2 separate regions of the Homo sapiens genome follow, and region 1 is linked to region 2. The links are contacts of gene promoters, found by promoter capture Hi-C in human tissues and cell types (Jung and others, 2019). All regions are on one chromosome and are shown on one strand. The core of a region is centred on a gene start or on the middle of the fragment in contact, and the rest is flanking DNA. Distances in the headings are between cores, read along the strand shown.

Region 1 (2,700 bases), core at 64-2,563, 680 kb before region 2:
AACAAGGAATGGCAGATCTCTATACTAGAACAAGGCTGAAGGAAGCAGACCATTTCTGCAAAATAAGAGTTTATCTTTGTCATAAATACTTTAGGTTGACATGGTTCTATTATATCAGGCTCGTTGGTCCCAGGAGGTTGCATTTTTCCTAAATGTGCGCCGTTAAGGTATTGTGTGATTGAGGAGGGGAAGAAGGCTGGATGGGAAATCATGCAAAGACAAGTGCATGTGGTAGAGAAGCTTATAAACGGAGTCATTTTCATGTTTAACAGGAGACCACGTTTCTTAATCTCTAGATATCCAGTATCTTCTTGAATGAGCTGTGGTATCACTTTAAAAGATGGGATTTTTAACATTTTTAATGACCACTTCAAATTCTCCACCAGCCACGGCATAGTTGTGTGGGTTTTTCTTTTCAATTTTGGTATAATCACCCAGATTACATTTCTCTATGAGAAACATTCACCTCGCATTTTGAAAAGCATAGAAAAATTCACTGCCAAGGACTAGCTGGCCAACAGTAGCCCTAGGGAGATATATTTCCGTTCTCCCACCCAGCCTCTCTGCACCCATCCTCACAATGACATACACCATAGTGGAAGTAACATATGACTTATGGTGGGAAAAAAAATAACAAATGATAAAATGGGAAGGAGGGCAAGGGGAAAATAGAGAGACTGCTACCCCACCACCTGAATGGAAGGGGACCCCAGCACAAGGAGGAGGCTTCAGCTACACTGCACACATGTCCCCCGGGTGTCTGAACCTGCCAGAAATCTCTTAGTCCATTTTCCTCTGGTTGATAGCACTGCAGAGAAATTGTTTAATGTGTGTCTAGGGTATTGTTCATTGAGGAAAAGTTCAGGGAATAGACTATTAGAATTCATTAATCTCCACTCAAAAATTGGTTTTGGACACCTAAAATGAGCAAGGCCCTTAAAACTTCAAACAAAAAAACAAACAAAAACCACTTTTCATTATATCCCATGTTCTTATTACCCATTTTTTTTTTAATTCCTTTCCCCAGATTTGAAAAATGGAAAAACTACAAACTGGAAACAAGTTTAGAATACCTGGTTTATTGGGAAAACTTCATAATGAAAACTACAATTAGCTTTTTCCACAACTTACAAAATAATAATCTGATATTTAAAATGAATTGGTTTTCATTATGTAAGTCGAAATGGTAAAAAATCATAATGACCTATCCGATGCATCATATATATGCTATTCAGAGAAACTCAAATCCCCGAATTCTCCTGTGGCATGTTTTATATCAGACATTTAAAATCTGTTTACCAAGAAAGACCAGGATTTTAACTATATGTAGGTTTCTGCTTACAGTTGCAAACTATCAGAAGCCTGTCTATATGATAGAGCCCAGATAAACCTGAGATTTAGAAAAGCAAGTCATTTATTCTCCTGAGGCTGTTTTAGTGGCACTTTTGTGACAAGAATGACCCTCCTAATGCTTTACTACACAACTTAACCAGATCTATCAGTCATGATAAATTAGACCCAGTCCATCTTTCAATCCAGTCTACTCTGGTTCTGAACATATAAACACAAAACACTACAGATTTATTAATATAGCATTTTCCCACACCCTAACCCTATAAAGAACTTTAAAAGAGAAAATTTCATCTAAATATTTCACACTTAAAGGAAAGCCTTACCAACTATGGCAACAGGTTTGGACCATGAAATAGTACTTTCCTAGATGACATATCGAGTCAACATGAAGCCTTAGCTAAAATGAATGATTCAGGATATTAATGAGAAATTCTCACAAATGATATGCATTTAGGAAATGATTTTGCTTTCCTTAAATAGTTCGAAGGCTTGAAAATAAACTTTTTTTTTGCATTTCTTTTAGAATGTTTGGTCATTAACAACTTTTAACCTTATCTTCCTCTTCTCCTTAGCCCTTAACAGACCGAGTCCATTCTATTTGGAAATAACAAGAACTTGATCAGATTATTAAATCTTGGAAACCTCATTTTTACCTTATAAAGTGTTAAGTTTCACGTGCATATTCTCTTACAAATGTAGTATAAATGTTATGGATAGATATAAGGAAATATTGGCATAGTATAGGTAATTAGTGAAAAGACACAACTTCACAAAACATAATAAAAGATAAACATGAAACTATAACACTACTTAAAAAATATTTTCTCCCAAATTATTTTAGCATTTTTGACTAGTTTAATAATATGAACACTGCCAAAAAATGGGTTCAAAGTCGCCTGGAGAAACAGTTTCTTCTTCTGGAGTCCATCTCAGCAGCAGCGATTTTCTCCCACATTCATTCCCAAGTTAGGCAGATGTGTAGAAGTACCTGGGCTTGGCATTGCCCAGAAGGTCATCTTCGTAGTTGGGGAGGCAGCAGAAGAAGAAGGCACAGCCAATCAGGATAATCGTGGCTGCCCACCCAAAGCCGTAGGCCCAGTTATAGATGTAAGTGACAGCAGGGTTGGCATGAAGGGTGAAGGTCTGGGTGTACTTCACGGGGTAAATTACCAGGGAGATGATCTGGAACACAGCTAAAGGGAAGAAAAAAATCCCAGGGTATGAATGCATACATGCATGAAGGAATAAATACACATTAGCGACAGATTACCTCCTTCCACCAAGTTTCTGCCTTGAAATAAGTATAAAATCTACCTGGAGGCAGGAGGAATCTGGTTAGGCAGAGGC
Region 2 (2,700 bases), core at 14-2,513:
AATAGCATTCATGTAAAACTTCAAATGCCCCAAACCATTCTACATATTGTTTATAATACATAGTAATAGTTTAAATATAGAAACCTAGATTGGCAAGATACATATCAAATTCATGATCCTGGTTGCCTCTCTGAGGGTGGTAGTAGAATGGGACTGAGAATAGGGAACACCTTCTTTATCTGTAATGCTCCATTTCTTTCATTCATAAATCTGTTCGTTCTGGATAGTGGGTGCGTTGTTTATTCTGTGCTTTTTTTTTTTAACATTTCAATAGTTTTGTTTTTTTTTTTTAAATGGCGGGTGGCGGAAGAACATCCTATCCTAGAAGCCAAGAGACTGGGGTTGTCTTTGCTCTGCCTTTTCTGGCATGGATACAATCTCTAGATATGGTTTCCCCATTAGCTAATGCGGGGGGTGCTATGTGGTGTTCCTCCAGAGTCCCTTCAATCTAAGGACCTGTGAATCTAAAACCTTCCCACCTCCCACTCCAACACCGGGAAGGCTACCCAGACCAGGCAATGAAACGTGCATTTCTTCCCTCATTTAAGATAGATCTCTTTCTCTCAGCCTGCAATTCCTTCTCCAGAGGCTTTAAGTATAGTGGAAGTAGAACTATCTTTGACGACAGAGAGACACCTGCATCAATTAGCCTTTCTGAGCCTCAAATTCCCCATTTGTAAAACAGAGAGTATAACACCTACCCATAAAATTGTAGAGAGGTTTAGATACACCGTTATGTGTAGGGCCCGAACAGAGTAGCTATTAATAGTGGTAACAGACTCTCAATTAGGGGCTCAACATCATGGTCGCTGAACAGAATCACGGTCGCTGAACAGAATCACACTCTTCACGCCGCCTTGGAGCCAAAATTAGTTTAGCCGCGAGAAGTCCGGGCAACCAATCGGAAACAACCAAGGAACAGTTGCATGGCGACACTCTGGTTCCGCCTTCGGGCATGCTCGAACAGCATTCTGGGAATTGTAGTTCGGGGGGGGAATCTAACACTCACCGAGGGGCGGAGTAGCTTCCGGAAAGGGTACTGCATTTCCCGTTTCTACCTCCACTGCACCCGCTTATTGCGTCTTGCTCCTGGGTCACAGAGCCTAAAACGACACACCCAACACGCCCGCCGGAGTTACAGCTAAAGGAAGGACAGGGGAAGCAATGAAATGCCGAGGGCGGAGCCAAGAGCGACACTGGGGGAGCAGGAAAAGGCGGGGCTTCCGCTTGGGGCATGGAGGCTGTACCTCTTACGTCACTTCCGTAAACAAACGGAGCTGCGGAGGAGCGGGTCCCGGGATGTGACCGGGGCTCTGCTTGTGGCTGCGGCGGTGGCTTCTGAGGCTGTCGGGTCTTTGCGGGTTGCGGAAGGGGGCCCCAATACCCTTCTTCTTCAGGTATGTAGTGGAAGCAAAGGAACCTCCGCAACCTGCCCCTTTAGGCCCTTCCCACCACTCTGGTCACTGCTGGGTACTGGGCGGTGAAGGGTCATCGCTTCGGTAGATTGGGGAAGGGGAATGAGGTGATGTCAAGAGGGATGCCCAGTGGTACTGCTTGGAGGCAAGACCTGGCACTTAAAACCACTGTGTGAATAAGTAACTATGAGCAGTTTACTTATTATGCCTTCTCTAAAACATTCTTTGCTGTTTGATATACAGGAAGGGTTTCAGTGCTCTTGTGACAGATGTAATTTTCCAAAAACGAGGAAATCGCGAGTGCTGGCTCCGCAGAATATTGTGGTTTAGACCACCACTGGTTTATTTGCATTGCTTTACTTCCTAGATTTTTTTTTCTTGTACCACCAAGTGTGTATTAGCATCGTTAAATTTCAGGCCAGCGTGTTTATGCGTATCATACATTTTTACAGATCCTTGCCTCTTCAGAGAACTAATCGTCTCTATTCAGTCATCTTTCAAACTCTCATTTAATTTGTGTTGCATGTTGAAACAACACCAGAATTATTGTTCTGTTACAAAAAATGCTTCTTAAAAGAAAAATTGTTAGCCAAGGTTTAAGTGGATTGACACCCAGTGGTATCTGGGATTAGAGACTGGGCATTGGAGCCTTTCCCAGAAAGCCTCTTCTTTGGCAGTATTGTAGCTCCAGTTGTAATTGTCTAGCGTCAGCCAATTTAAGCTCAGTGGTTTAAATTCCAGTGCCAGTGGCACTAAGTCCAGGCAAAAGGAAAAAGAAAAATTTATTGAATTCATCAAATAATTATTTTAAGCGACAGCAATGGGTTTGAATCTTTTTGAATGGTCATGGCATGCCTAAATTAAACACAGCATGCCAAAAACGGCCTAATGTTTCTAGAAGGCAATTTACAACCTGATGAGGTAGAGATAGCCATATAAATTCATCTTATGATATATGAAATAATGAAGTTAAGAAAAATTTAACACTATGCACAAATAAAGTATGGAAGGGGTTTTTTTGTTTTGTTTTGTTTTGTTTTGTTTTGTTTTTGAGACGGAGTCTCGCTCTGTCGCAGTGGCACCATCTCGGCTCAGGGCAAGCTCCGCCTCCCGGGTTCATGCCATTGTCCTGCCTCAGCCTCCTGAGTAGCTGGGACTACAGGCGCCCGCCACCACTCCCGGCTAATTTTTTGTATTTTTAGTAGAGACGGGGTTTCACCGTGTTAGCCAGGATGGTCTCGATCTCCTGACCTCGTGATCCGCCCGCCTTGGCCTTCCAAAGTGC

The links. Contacts are between HindIII fragments. The study calls those that stand out against the background at their distance.
Region 1: a fragment that was not itself captured here is called in contact with the fragment with the promoter of CCDC28A in region 2 in 1 of the 25 tissues and cell types used here (dorsolateral prefrontal cortex).

Annotation. Positions count from the first base shown.
Region 1 is chr6:138,089,723-138,092,422 of GRCh38, forward strand. PERP (p53 apoptosis effector related to PMP22) reads right to left here. Exons shown (of 3, transcript NM_022121.5): 3 at 1-2,546. The coding sequence ends at 2,320. Among named protein-coding and RNA genes, the nearest start is that of PERP, 16 kb to the right of the region's middle. The HindIII fragment of the contact is 4,944 bases long and covers 1-2,700 here.
Region 2 is chr6:138,772,506-138,775,205 of GRCh38, forward strand. It overlaps CCDC28A (coiled-coil domain containing 28A), which reads left to right and starts at 1,264. Exons shown (of 6, transcript NM_015439.3): 1 at 1,264-1,397. CCDC28A-AS1 (CCDC28A antisense RNA 1) reads right to left here and starts at 1,198. Exons shown (of 3, transcript NR_161205.1): 1 at 1,010-1,198. RefSeq lists enhancers at 315-989, 990-1,663, 1,027-1,076, 1,097-1,156, 1,517-1,576. The HindIII fragment of the contact is 9,932 bases long and covers 1-2,700 here.